5 separate regions of the Homo sapiens genome follow, and all the other regions are linked to region 2. Evidence: promoter capture Hi-C in 16 types of primary human blood cells and fetal thymus (Javierre and others, 2016). All regions are on one chromosome and are shown on one strand. The core of a region is centred on a gene start or on the middle of the fragment in contact, and the rest is flanking DNA. Distances in the headings are between cores, read along the strand shown.

Region 1 (2,880 bases), core at 224-2,723, 1.5 Mb after region 2:
GTAGAAACCCTTGTCCAAACAGGGGGTAGAAAAGAGCAAGAAAGAATTCAGGTGGGTGATGCTTGCAAGTATAGAGAGGAAAGCCCCTGGCTGGGGTATCAGGGCTCTTGGCTTCCATGGAGGCAGGCGCTTGGAGATCCAGTCCGGCTACCATGGGGCTTGGCTATATTCAATCTGCATTCCCCCCCCAAGCAAGCTTATAATGGAATCACTATGGAAACAGTATTCATGTACCAGAAGTCTATTTTTCACTTAAATTTTGTTTGAATGCTTTTTGTTTTTGAGTGCTTTGAACCCTTGAGGTGAGGCATTTCTGATTTTACAGCTCTGCCTGAATTCAGATCCTCAACCCCACTGAATTAGGGGAACCCAGAAAAGTACCCCATCACGAGTTCAATCAGAAAATATCACAAGCTTTCTAACATAATAATTTATGAAGTTATTCTACTCACTTGAACTACTTTCTCAAATAGGAAAAAATAAAGCTGAGCTGCCAGGCATGAAGAACAGGGTGCAAATATGAATTTTATAAAAGGAGAAAGAGGAACTACCCATGCCAGTAGCCAGCACTGCCTAAGGATTTCTCACAGGGCATTTTTCTTGCTTGCGGGCTTCCTGTCTCTGGTAATATCATCATCACTGCTGGCTTGAGATCCTCCCTATTTTGCAGCTCAATGTGCAGATATTTAGAAGCCTATTATAAATTTATCGCCAACAGGCCAACAGGTTTCGCTCCTCTCCTTCCCCCATTACTTATCTTTCTTCTTAATTCAAAGAGTTAAACATGTGTAATTTGTTCTTTGCCTCTTCATTTTTGTTTAATTATTTTGTCTTTTTCTAAGTTGTGTTTGACTCCGGTGATTCATCCAATATACGTAAAAAGAAACAAACCAAGTGCTTGGGACGCATACCCGGGTTATCTTAACTGTGCAGAGCAGGTTTCCTCCCACTCCGCCCGTAGTTACCCAGATCATCGCCTCCGTTTTCTGTTTAGGCAGCGGGGGCTCGCCGTCCCCTCGCCCGCGGTGGGTGTCGCAGCTGGTCCCCTCCAGGGTTCTCCCAGATCGCCGCCGCCACCCCCGCGCCTCCCCGCCGCACCCCTTCCTACGCGGGGGTCTCTGGGTCCCCGGCTCTAGGACCGCAGGGACGCGGGCAGGAGGTGGCGCCCGCCTTCGGTCCTGCCCTCTGCCGCGCGCGGGGTGGGGACGGACCGGAGTTCCCCGGCTCGCGCACAAGGGCCGCGGAGGGGTTGCCGAGGGGTGGGCGGGGCTGCGCCGCCTGGCCGCGCCGCTGCCTGGCAGGCCGGGCATTAGGGCCTCGGCGGAGCCCGCTCCCCTGTGCGCTGGGCGGGGTGGGCGGAGGGCGGCTTCGCGTGCAGGCGCGGGCCCGGAGGCAGCGGCTGCGCCCTGCGCCGGGGCGGAGCCGGGGGCGGGCCGGCGGCCGGCAGGCGGGGGCTGGGGCCCGAGGCCGGGAGTGCCTGAGCGCCGGCGGCGACGACGGCAGCGGCGGCCCAGCGGGCTCGGTGGTTGGGTCCGCGGCGGCTCGGGGTCCGCCCGCGGGCTGCGGTGCGAGCGGGCGGCCCGGCTCCCCTCCTCCCCCGCCCGCCGCCGCCGCTGTGATTGGGTGGAAGATGGCGCTGGCCGGATGGAAATCCTAATGACAGTCTCCAAATTCGCCTCCATCTGTACCATGGTAGGTGGCGGCGAGCGGGCGGCCGGGGCTGCCGGGACCTCTCGGGCGGGCGGGCGGCGCTGGACCCGCCTCTCCCAGTGGCCGCTCGCGGGGCCTAGCGCCGGGGCGGGCGGGCGGGCTGGGCGGCCCGGGCGGCCCGGGCGGGGGCGGTTGGACGGCGCGCAGGCGGGGAGCGCGGGGGTGAGCGGCCCAGGCGGCTGGGGAGGGGGCGCCGCCTGGTGGGCCAGGGCGGCGCGAGGGTAGCGGTGAGTGGGCGACCGTGCCAGACGCGGCGTCGGGCGGGCACCGGCCTCCGGGAGTCCCCGGCTGAACTGCTGGGGTCCGCTCGGGACGCGGGGACGAGGGCCGAGGCGCGCCCGGCCTGTGCCGGGGTGAGGGGTGGGCGCGCGCGAGCCAGAGCGCGGCCCCGGGCCGGGGTCGTCGGGGAGGGGGCGCGGAGCCGCGCGGGCTCCATTTCCTTCTGGTCGCGCGCCGAGCGGGAGGGGTCCCCGGGAGGGGTGGGGGTCGGCGGGCAGGAAGGAAGGGTCTCGGCCGGGGCGGGCAGCGCTCATTCCCGCCTGGGAGAGGACGGAAGTCAAGTGCAGATTTCCTCGCGCCGCTGGCTGGGCCGAGTCCCCGACCCCGCGCTGGGGGAAAGGGGCGTGTGTGAAGGTGGAAACTTTAAATAAGTACTGTTGAAATTCTCTCCATTTTCTCCTCTGAGAGGCACGAGCTCTCCCGTTTCCAGCCGTGTGTCCAGGTGGCAGTCTTGTCTCTGGGAATGCACGTTAATCTTGAAAAGCAGCATTAGCTTTCCTGTCATTTGTTTACTTCAGCCCACCAGACACATCTGTATGTGGCTGGAGCTAGGTCTGTCTGTGCGGGGACCGCCTGCCAAGGCGATGGTATTTGTTTTCCTAGGGCGTTTAAATAGACTGTAAGGGAAAAGTGCTAATGCCCGCTGGAAGTCCCGAATTAAGCAAAACGTGGGCGCGTTTAAAACTTGGTGTTTTGTGCGTGGCCAGAAGGACCACAGTTTTCCACATGATGAGACAAATTCGTTTCATTAGTTCCTCATGAGCTTATATGTAGGGATCATAATTTATGAGTCATCACCGAAAAAAGTTGTTCTTTGCAACGTGGGCCTAGTGGTTGTTATTAGAGACTTCTGAAATCTTGTGTTTCATGCCTCACTGGCCCTATTTATGC
Region 2 (2,700 bases), core at 138-2,637:
CAAAAACACATTTAACACACCTAACCTACTAAACATCAGGCCTTAGCCTAGCCTACCTTAAATGTGCTCAGAACACTTACACTAGCCTACAGTCGGCCAAAATCATCTAATACAAAGCCTACTTTATTAAAAAGTACTGGGTATCTCATGTAATTTATTGAATACTGTACTGAAAGTGAAAAACAGAATGGCTGTATTGGTACTCAAATATGGCCTCTACTGACTGTGTATGGATTTCACACCATCATAAAGTCAGAAGATTGTTGAACCACCAGAAGTTGGGGACCTTCAGCAGAGATGTGTGATTGTTGCTTTCCAAATGTATCTTCTATTACTTCCCTATATGAACATTCTCCTCCTTCTGGACTGCTTTATTGTAAAGTAACAAGGTTTCAACGCACAAAGAAAAGGTGAATTCTGACTTCTGGATTCTGTTATTGTCATTTTTCCCAATTTCCTTCTGTAAAATATCAAGATTAGTACTTGCTGTTTCTAATAAAGGAAGGAGCCGAGAAAGGCAAATCTACGAAAACCTAACTACTAGTTACATTTGAGAGTGCCTAAAAAACTTTTTAGATAACGATTAGCAGTATTTACCAATAGAAACTTTCTAGATTTGGATGGATGGCCTACCAGCAGTACCGATATCAGAGTCTGTGGCAATGGTGACTCAGTGTTCTTCTCAAATACCACAACTTCTAAGTTAAAAAGAAAGAGAAAGTGGTGGGGAGGAGAAGGAGGGAGGAGATATACTAACAATACTGGCAAACAGGGAATAGCAACTGTCTGATTTTTTCCCCTCTAACATCTAGCACACTACAAGCTCTCAAAAAAGTTTGTAGAGCAAAGCTGCGTTACACAAATGCGACCTATAGTTGTGGGCTGTTTACTAGGCAGTTACAAGGGCGGGGGCTGGGGGAGATGAGGAGTCTGAGAGCTCTGGGCTCCCAGAGGTTACCCGTCAAGGAAAGGGTCGCCAGCGCCACCCCACAGAACGTTGCACTTTCACGGCTGCCTTTTCCACTTCTGCGCCAAGTAAGGGGAGGAGGTCTGGGCCTGCTGGGGTCTAAGGGATGGAAGGGCGCAAACCGAGCTAAGAGGAGCAGGATGAAGCCGAAGCACTGCTAGTGGGACTAGTGCCGGGCCCCGGCGACAGTCACGACCCACCCAAACCCCGTGACTCGACAGATTATGGCGCCTGAGGCCGGCCTCAGCCCCACGCTGCCGCCGCCGCCGCCACCGGGGACGGGTTGGGAGGCGACTGCCTGTTTCTGCCGAGCCACGGTCCCGAGCCCGCGTGGAACTCCAGCCGCCCGGGTACCCACTCACCATCTTCCGCAGCTCTGCGAACAGCCTCTCTGCCCCGTTACCGTCAGTCGACCCCGCCGCTCACTTCCGTTTCCGAGGGCTGGCCCCCACATCCGCCGGAAGTGCGTCCGTCCTGGCGAGGAAGGAAGGAGGGCGCGGGACGCCGGAGGGAGCTGCGCGGGGCCGAGGCTCCCACGCTTGCAATCCCAAGGGACCCAGGGCCAAGGGCGCAGTAAGGGTGTGGGCTGGGAGGAGGGAGGGGTCGGGACGAGACGTGCCTGAGGGGAGGGAAGACACGGACTCCGGTTTATTAATAAACATCTACGGTTTGTACGGCATTTTAAGATGTGCAGTGTGCTTTTGTAGGTACATCGCCTTATTTAACACAAAACCTCTCTGAGGTAGCTATTACATTTCACAGAAGGGTAAACGAGGCGTAGGTGGTTTGAGTGATTTGCTTGAGATCGTTCGGCTAATAAAGCAAAATTGGGACACAAGGCTTTTGTCATTTTTAAAAAACATAATATTGAAGGCCTGGTATGTTCCGAACCCTGTGCTGAGGCTAGGAATACAAAAAAGGACCAGGCCGGTGTGGCCTCTGGGCTAGAGGAGCAGGGGTACTCCGGAGGCTAGAGGGGAGAGAGGGGACGATAGTGACTACAAATTAAGTAAATGTGATCATGACCGACATATGTTGGGCCCTTTGAATTGCGTTATCAACACAGTTCTAAGTGCTTACATCCTTTATCTCTTTTAATCTTTTCAATAACCTTACAAGTACAATTTACAGGTGAAGAAACCGAGACATGAAGGGCTTAAATAAATATGCCTAAGGACATATTTATGAGTCTAGAATCCATGCTCATTACACTATTCTGTATTGTTCAAATATAATGTAATAAAACGGCCTTATAGTCTGCTGCCACAGGATGGAGACATCTTAGGGAATCTTTGGACTGACAGCTAAAAGATAAGAGCGAACTAGTTTGGGGTAGTAGGATATTTAAAACAACATTACGTGCAGATCTGCTTGTGCAAAAACGGAACTGGAAAGAAGGCCTAAGTCTGGCTAAAGTTCAGAAAGTAAAGTGGAGAGTACTGTGAGATGAGGTTGTAAGTAGATGGAGGCAAGTGGTTTTTGTTGTTGTTTTTGTTTGTTTGTTCTAAATAATGATAGGGTTTAGCTATGTTGCCCAGGTCTGCGTTGAACTCCTGGGCTCAAGCGATTCTCCTGCTGCAGCCGGCTGAGTAATGGGAACTACAGGCGTGCATCATGGGACCTAGCTACAGGTTTTTTATGCAGCCTTTGTAGGCAAGATTAAGGATGAGGCTTTGTCTTTAAAAAGCCATCGAAGGATTTGAGAGAGGAAAATGATAAGGCCATATATGTTA
Region 3 (2,849 bases), core at 143-2,642, 1.4 Mb after region 2:
AGCTCTTTAGTCATTATAGGGCAGAAATGCCATTCCTGGCCATTACTCCTACCATAAGGTAAAATACAGCAGTCAGGCTTGACGTGTTGACAATATTCTAACACAATTTGGTTTCTAAGTTTACCAACAATCCTTTAAGAATGGCTCCCAAAGTACCATTTTTATAAAAATTGTATAGCAAGAAGACATGTTTCACCTAACTCACCAAAGTCAAACCATTGTTACAATGGATGAACCCTTTAAATGCCAGGTACTCTGTTCCAATCCCCAAAGCCTTTAGATGTGTATAAAGTTCCAAAAACTTGTGCTAAGTTAGTACACAAAGGGTGATACTGTGTAGATTCAAGTCACTTTGTGGAATCACCAAGTGGCATAATCAGTTAACTCATTCCTGATTCCAGAGCCCATAATCCTCCACTAGATCCATCTTTCTGAGTTTGGAATCCATTTTAAGCATGGACCCCATACACTTAAAACTGAAGGCACTTTTCAAAACGATGCTTTACAGTTTGTAAGAGTATTAAAATCATGGCAACTAGGATCCACCATAAAGAGCAACCTGCAGTTTGCTCGACTCTGTTGACGTCCACAAACTAGACAAAATGATGAACTATGGCTAAATGTTTCCCTTCACTCAAAGCATGCTGCCCTAGAATTCGCAAAACAGTATCTCCTCTTGGTGCAAATATTGGTGTTGCAACCTCAAAACACTTTCCCTTCGTCCGATCACCATGTGGGGTCAAAATTTTAAAAACAGTCGGAAATCGTCTTATGCATTAACTAAGGGCAGTGAGGGTTCATCACCCAGGACGACTCCGGGACCCACTCTCCGACCGAGAGCCCGGGTTTTCACACCTGTAGGCTTCACAGAAGATTAAAGCCGACGCCTGACTTTAAACCCATTCCTACTACCCCTTAAGTCCTCACCCAACATCATCGCAAGATTTGGAATAAAAAAGCCACACTGAAAGGAGTTAGAAAGGCATCAGGCCACGCGGCCCCCACACAGCCTATGTGAGAGGGGCCACCCACAGTACCGGAGATGCAGCCACGGGAACATAAAACGAAGTCTTTTAAAGATTAACTCGAGTCGCCTCACCCCAAGCGACTCAGTCTCGTCTTTCTCGCAAATGTCCCCCCGCAGGGCCGCAACATCGCAGTCCGGTTCTCAGCCCACGGCCCAGACCCGACCCGGCGCACGCTGCTCCCCGTCTGGCAGAACATGGTTTAACCCGCCCATGCCAATGGACCTCAAACAGGTTAGAGAGTCTCCCCACGGTCCCAATGAACGACCTCTGAGGCCACAAGGTCGCGGTTCAAGTCTGTCGAACACCTAGCGCCCGGGAGCCACGCGTAGGCCCTACCTGGAAGATGGCGGTTCCGGCCGAAAGGAAAGAGGCGGGGCCGCGGCGCGCGCCTTACAAGGGCCTGTGGGCTGCCCACGGCGCTGCCTGAGGGAAACGCCAACCGTAAGCGACTTCTTTCTAGGGAAGAAGATCGTCTCTGAGAACACAGAAAGTCTGTGAGGATATTTTCCCCTCTTGCGAAAGAAAGGCAACCGGCCAACACAAGCTGACACTTGCATCGTGTCAGACAGCCCGGAAAGGGGCCTTCAAGGGCGATCAAGAGGACGCCGTCGTCCCGAGCGTGCTTACGCCATCCTTTGCGTCACCGCCTTCGCCGGAAGCTGCCTTGTATCCGCGTCTCCGCAGGGAAAACTGCGGCTGGCGGTGCGGGAAGTGCTATTAGTAGTTGTTTATTTGTTTGTTTGCAGAAATAATTGCTTGGGTACGAAGGTCAAACGAGAATGAAGCAAGTATATTATCTAGTTTGTATGTCTTTAAATAGTTTCTCCTCCACACGTCTAAACATACGCACCTGCTAGTAGGTGCGCAAATGTTAAAACCTCTTTGGGAAAGCAATGTGGCAAAATCTAGTAAAAGTTTTCAATTACTAAACCCCAGCACTCTGCTCCTACCTATATGTCTTGTAGAAACTTTGGTAAGTGAACAAGGATGTACGTAACAGCGCTGTGGGTAGAAGCAAAAAATTAGAAACGTCCATCAATAACAGAATAAATACCTTATGGGATGTTAGGATGTAGTATTATACGCCAATAAAAGAAGACTGAACTCAGAAATGTGATGAGGCAAAAAGAGAAAGATGTAGAAAAATAAATAGTATGACAATTCATATACATTCAACTCTAAAACTTGTAAAACAATGCTATATATTGCTTAGTTATGCATACATATGTAGTTAAAGAAGTCAAGAAATACAAGAGAATGAAAATCAAGTTGAGAAAAGCAGTCATATCTGGTAAGGAGGGGACAATAAAGGGAGGCTTTAACTGTATTGACCATTATTAAACCGGGTGTTAAATATATGGGTGGCCATTGTTTTATTCACTACACCTTTAAAAATAGATATTATTTTCTTAATGTAGTTTATTTAAATTGAGATAATGCCATATACCCAGCATCCAGTTTCCCCTATTATTAACATCTCATGCTAATATGGTACATTTGTTGCAATTAATGAACCAATATTTTACACTGTTATTAACTAAGGTTCACATTTTATTCAGATTTCCTTCGGTTTTACCTAATACCCTTTTTCTGTTCCAGGATTCCATCCAGAATACCACATTACATTTAGTTATGATGTCTCCTTATATGCCTCTTGTGGCTGTGGCAGTTTCTCAAACTTTCCTTACTTTTGGTGACCTTGAGAGTTTTGAGGAGTACTGGTCATGTATTTTGTAGGATGTCCTAATCATGGAATTTGTCTCATGTTTTTCTCATGATTGTATGTATTTTTAGGATGCATTTTTAAAAAGTCAGCTAAGT
Region 4 (2,700 bases), core at 196-2,695, 1.0 Mb after region 2:
TCCGCCCCAGCCTGTTGCCTGTGAATTCTCACCTTTCTCTTTAGGCTGGAGAGGGTGGGAGAGAGATTTGACATCTTCCAGGGGGTAATTTAAAAATATGAATCTTGATTTGGAAGCAGTTGCACACAAAGCATCATTCAGGAAATACATCACTCGCTTTTCAAAGCTGTATGCCACGTTTTAAACAAGGACTTTTGACTCATGTAGTGTTTCTTTTAGTATTTCAGTTTACGTTAAGTTTATGAATCCAGACGTTCGTTTGTACCAGGAGCTAAAGTACACTTATGCATGGGCTTTGCTGTGTATATTATGCTTTTTAAAATCACAGAAATCAGAAACAAAGTTGAGTGAAAAGCGGTGGCGGTGCAGGAGGAGGAACACTTGTGAGCTCCAGCTTATTGGAACTGCCTTTAAGAATTTCACATTCTTGCGGCAATAGTACTTACTTGTAAATTGGCCTTCTTCCCAGGACAGGTTTTGATATTTCTTTTGCATGTACTTCGATGCAGCACTAATGAAGTTGGATCTCAGTAGATCAATTTTATTTACTTTGCTAGATTTGATTCCCACCCCCACACCTCTTTAGAAAATGGACTTTGGCAGGTAAAGAAGGAAGCGGGAATCTGGTATCCTTTTTGGCTTGTCAAAGCTTTGTTGAGCCATGAATAACAAAGTTTTGGCTTTTTAGCTTGTCCGAGTCCCACATGTGAGTTTTCCCATGGGGTAAAAGTAGGCCAAATGAGAACCAAAGTAGAATAACATCACTTTTAATTCGGCCCACTTGTGTGTTACATTCTCCATATATCTTGTTTCTCTCATCAACTTTGAAATTTTTTCATTATTTATTCATTTAGCCACTGATAAAGTACCTACTGCATGCCAGCCATTGATGGCGGGGGTTGCTTCTTGCCCAGTTTTCTCATTTGGAAACTGATCCATGCCTTTATCCCACTAGTTACCCTGAAGTAATTTGAACTTAGGGAGCATTTCTGCCTGGAGACCTGTAAGAATAGGTGTTACGTAGGCACTTAGTCTTCAGATTGGTTTGGGATTTCGTACATTGTAGGCACGTAGCACGCAGGCCACTTAAAAATAAATGTATGTGTCTTTGGGCTGTTGTATTACGAGCTTTGCATATGGGCTTGTCTGGCCGAAGGACCCAGTGTCCGAGGTGGAGGTAGTAGTCAGGGACATGTATTATTCATTTCAGAACACTTGGCACCTTTTCTTGCTTACATTGGGCACTAAAATATTTACTGAATTGACTTGAACAGAAAAATGAAGGATTTTTTATACCAGATTAAGAAATTTGGACTTTATCCAGTCAGTGATACTGAGCTGCTAATTTTAAGCAGGAGAATGTCATGATAACGGGTAAGCATTCCAGAAAGATATCTGCAGCGTCTGGAGGATGGTGGGCTTCCAGATGGGCGATATGGAGACTAAGTTGGAGGCTGTTCTAATGGAGGGGTTAAGTGCTCAGGGATTCTCTATTCAGATTACCTGGGGTGGAATCAGGCTCTGTCATACACTGAAACCTCTTTGTTCCTTAGGTTTGTCATCTCAGAGTTTGGGGGATAGAACTTGAAAAAACATGTCTATTACTTAGAATAGTGATTGCCAGATAGTAAGGACTTAGTAAATGCTAGTGTGCTGGCAGTGGAAGGAGAAATGACGTGGTGTTTAAGAGGTATGACTAGGAGGCTGGACTAGGTAAGTGACTGGGTAGGCTTAAGGAGGGAAGGATGAATCCTGGGTTGTTTGACTTCAGGCATTGATTGACATGTACTGGGTAAGCTGGCTGTGAAATTAAAACGGGTCAAATTCTAATTCTATTACTTACCCTTAGAATAACTATCCTGACAGAACTTTGATTTCCTAACATTTGGGAAATGATTGTCGTACCTGTTGAGTAGGGTTTGAGGAATTATGCATGTAATGCCTTTGGCAGGGTACCTAGCACATTCCAAGTGCTCAGTAAATATTAGTTGTTCCTTTAGATGATGACATTAATGAGCTAGTGGAATGTTGGAGGATATGAGAAGGAGCAGTTAAAAACAATTGATGGTAGAGGTGTAGAAGGGAAGATAAGTTCAGTTTTGGACTAATCTAAGGAGGTGCTAAATGGATGGTTGAGAGATCCATGATGCAGTTGTTGGATAGTTGTGTCTCACAGGAGCTAGGAAAGAATAGAAAAGAAAAAGAGTTCACAGAAAGGCTTTATGAGTATGGTAAGCTTTATGAGAGATTTAGAGGAAGGGGAGGGTGAAGGGGTTCACAGTGGAGCGATATCAGAAGTGTTGACATTGAATATTAGGCATTTCTATCCTTAAAATATATTTTGGCCACCATCAAAGAAAGGAGGACTCCAGGCTCTTGTAATCTGGTTGGCTCTTTGGCCTTCTTCCCCTCTTCTTTCTTTCCTTTACAATTGCCACCCGATATCTTTAAATTGTATTATGAGGAACTATTTAACTTTCCTTCCTGCTTACAGGGCTAGAGTTCACAGGCCCACCTTCCTCTATCCAAATGCATCTAGGTTTTTAAAAAAGAATCACAGGTCTCATTTCATAGGTTCTCCTCTATTTAGGAAGCAGTGTTGTTTGAAAAAGTAATACATATGTATCTTGCATGTAGAATTAGAAGACTGGGGCAGGCCTACCTAAATTGACCCTGTAGGAGGGCCTGAGAGTCTTACAA
Region 5 (2,802 bases), core at 204-2,703, 1.2 Mb after region 2:
CCTTTGGAGCAGTAATAATTGTCTTTTTTTTGGTACAAGAATGTTCACAGCAGCTATTCATAAGAGCCAAAAATAAATAAATAAATAAAGGGAACAGCCTAGGTGTTCATTAACGAAAACTAGATTTAAAAACTGCGATATATTCATATACTTGGAGGACACTTCTTAGAAATAAAAAGGAACAAGGTAATGATCCGTACAACGTGAATGAATCTCGAAACATGCTGAGATGTCTTACAACAAAGAGTAGATATTGTTTGGTTCCATTTATATGAAGTCTTAGGACAGACTGATGGGAAAAAATCAGAACAATAGTTGCCTCTTGGGGATGGAGATTGACTTGGAAATGGCAAGAGGGAACTTCCTGGGATAATGGTGATGTTCTGTCGATAGGAGTTTTGGTTACAAAGGTATATGCACTTGTCAAAACTCAGATAAAGTCTGAGTAATCATCGAATTAAAAATGGATATCATACTATAAAGTTATGCATTATAAGTAATTGACATTAAGATAATTGGTTTTTAGAATATTGTGGCTGTCTCGGAGAGTATAGTTGTGGGAGTGAGTGCAGCAAATGCAACAGGATTATCATAAGAACGTAAGCGTTTGTTTCTATTTTGAGTTAGTCTCCTGGCCTCTTCAGCCTAGTGTTGTTTACCTCACAGAGGCATCAGAGATTTTCATCAGAGAACATGGCTTCCTATTTTTATTCAACTTTGAAAGGTTAGGGGTAGTCTCAGGCATCCTAGCTCAAACTACCCTTGACCCCACTTATAGTGTTTTCTTACTCTTTTTCTTAAAGTTCATCTTTTTTTTTTTTTTTTTGGCCTAACCCACTGGTTCTGAACAGGATAGGGAAGAGGAAACATCTGTGTTTTGAAAAGCATCCCCAGGTGATGCCGACAGGCCGTGGTTTCTGAGAAACACCACCCCATTGTAGACCAGTTAACTTTTAACCGTTCACTAGCAAAAAATTGTACAAGTTCTGCCTCAAACTGAAACCATCACCATTTGTTTTATTCTTCTAAAATTTTTATTTCAGTAGCTTTTGGACTGCAAGTGGTTTTTCATTACATGGACGAATTATATAGTGGTGAATTCTGAGATTTTAGTGCACCATCACCCGAATCGTATACATTGTACCTAATGTGTACTTTTTTTATGCCAGCCTCCTTCCCATCCGCCCCCATCACCATTTATGATGAGACTTTTAGACCTGAGTTTAAGGAAAACTAAATGAAGAAATAAAGGCACTATGCATTACAAAAAAATCAGAATTTTAAGTTTATAAAGTTCCTTATTTATGGGTCACTTAGATATAGGCTTGAAACGAATAAAGGGAATATTTTTTAAAATTATGTACAAAGCCAGAATGTCAATGTATTAAATTACAGTGAAATTTAGAACTTACACAGACTAGAATAGTTACATTGGCATTACCAGTGAACCATTCCTCCCTCTAGGCTATTGATTTGTTCTTTAAAAATGTATTAATTATTGAACACCCGTATAACCATAACCTAGATTTAGCAAATGCTGCCGTAAGTGCATTGTTTATATTTTCTGCTGTATGGTTTCAAAGCAAGTGATAGATGTCATGACACTATCCTAAATACTTCAGCATTTGTTTCTTAAGAATTCCATTTTCACACCTAAGAAAATTAACAGGCGGGTGCCGTGGCTCACGCCCGTAATCCCAACACTTCAGGAGGCCAAGGCAGGTGGATCATTTGAGGTCAGGAGATCGAGACCAGCCTGGCCAACATGGTAAAACCCCATCTCTACTAAAAATACAAAAATTAGCCAGGCGGTAGTGGTGCACACCTGTAATCCCGGCTACTTGGGAGGCTGAAGCAGGAGAATCACTTGAACCTGGGAGGCGGAGGTTGCAGTGAGCCGAGATTGCCCCACTGCACTCCAGTCTGGGTGACAGAGTGAGAACCTGTCTCAAAAAAAAAAGAAAAAAGAAAATTAACAATACGTCTCTAATAGTATCTAATACCTAGTCCCTATTCAGATTTTCCCCTCATTCCCAACATTTCTTTTCAGCAAAATTATGTCTCCTTGATTTTTTTTTTCACTCAAGAATAGCTTCCCTCTTCCCTTTTCATTCCCAATGGCATTGGCTTTTTTAGACACTAACCAGGTGTCTTGTTCCATCTGGATTTGTCAGATTGTTTCCTTGTGGCATCTTCTATTGTTTCTCTGAGTCTGGCCCTTGTATCCCCTGGAAACTGGAAGCTAGACCCTGCATCAGGTTCAGGTCAAACCTTTTTGGCAAAGCTGCTTAATAGAAGGTGCCATGCACTTTGGGTAGCTTCCCATCCAGAGATGTGGCAAGGATGGCAGGTTGTTCCACTGTTGGAGATGCTGAGTCTGACGTTGGCTTAGGATGACAGACAGCTGTCTACCCTCAGCAGAGTGTGCTTTTCCCTCTCAGTCTGAAAGTAATCTGTTTGTGACCCTTTGGCATCAGCTCTCTTGCATCCTGCCTGAATCAGTAGTTTCGTTGGGGTTGGAAAAATGGTGATTTTCTTTTTTTTTTTTTGAAACAGGGTCTTGCTCTGTTGTCCAGACTGGAGTGCAGTGGTGTGATCAGAGCTCACTGCAGCCTCAACCTCCTGGGCTCAAGTGAACCTCCTTCCTCAGCCTCCCCAGTAGCTGGGAGTACAGTTGCGTGTCAACACACCTGGCTAATTTATTTTTTGTAGAGACTGGGTCTTGCTGTGTGTCCCGGGCTGGTCTCAAACTCCTGGCCTTAAGTGATCCTCTCGCCTTGGCCTCCCAAAGTGCTGGGATTA

Evidence for each region. Contacts are between HindIII fragments. The CHiCAGO score rates a contact against its expected background, and 5 or more counts as called.
Region 1: a contact is called between the fragment with the promoter of USP12 here and the fragment with the promoter of POMP in region 2, in 7 of 17 cell types (total CD8 T cells, total B cells, non-activated CD4 T cells and 4 more). The highest score is 8.8, in total CD8 T cells.
Region 3: a contact is called between the fragment with the promoter of RPL21 here and the fragment with the promoter of POMP in region 2, in 3 of 17 cell types (fetal thymus, naive CD4 T cells and neutrophils). The highest score is 10.1, in fetal thymus.
Region 4: a contact is called between a fragment that was not itself captured here and the fragment with the promoter of POMP in region 2, in 2 of 17 cell types (naive CD4 T cells and naive CD8 T cells). The highest score is 5.9, in naive CD4 T cells.
Region 5: a fragment that was not itself captured here is called in contact with the fragment with the promoter of POMP in region 2 in 1 of 17 cell types (naive CD8 T cells); the score reaches 5.1 in naive CD8 T cells.

What each region holds. Positions count from the first base shown.
Region 1 is chr13:27,170,404-27,173,283 of GRCh38, reverse strand. USP12 (ubiquitin specific peptidase 12) reads left to right here and starts at 1,473. Exons shown (of 9, transcript NM_182488.4): 1 at 1,473-1,692. The coding sequence starts at 1,645. USP12-DT (USP12 divergent transcript) reads right to left here and starts at 1,025. Exons shown (of 2, transcript NR_046548.1): 1 at 912-1,025. RefSeq lists enhancers at 697-886, 2,387-2,496 and silencers at 947-1,586, 1,727-1,776, 1,837-1,926, 1,997-2,066, 2,097-2,146. The HindIII fragment of the contact is 5,306 bases long and covers 417-2,880 here.
Region 2 is chr13:28,657,817-28,660,516 of GRCh38, reverse strand. It overlaps POMP (proteasome maturation protein), which reads right to left and starts at 1,387. Exons shown (of 6, transcript NM_015932.6): 1 at 1,330-1,387. The coding sequence starts at 1,332. RefSeq lists a silencer at 1,455-1,514 and an enhancer at 1,735-1,894. The HindIII fragment of the contact is 5,788 bases long and covers 1-2,700 here.
Region 3 is chr13:27,250,101-27,252,949 of GRCh38, reverse strand. RPL21 (ribosomal protein L21) reads right to left here and starts at 1,392. Exons shown (of 6, transcript NM_000982.4): 1 at 1,365-1,392. RefSeq lists enhancers at 899-1,484, 1,138-1,677, 1,485-2,070, 889-2,088. The HindIII fragment of the contact is 8,409 bases long and covers 1-2,849 here.
Region 4 is chr13:27,617,209-27,619,908 of GRCh38, reverse strand. The region is part of intron 1 of LNX2 (ligand of numb-protein X 2); the gene reads left to right. Among named protein-coding and RNA genes, the nearest start is that of LNX2, 2.0 kb to the left of the region's middle. The HindIII fragment of the contact is 1,587 bases long and covers 652-2,238 here.
Region 5 is chr13:27,445,223-27,448,024 of GRCh38, reverse strand. All of the region lies in intron 1 of MTIF3 (mitochondrial translational initiation factor 3), which reads left to right. Among named protein-coding and RNA genes, the nearest start is that of MTIF3, 3.9 kb to the left of the region's middle. The HindIII fragment of the contact is 4,271 bases long and covers 1-2,802 here.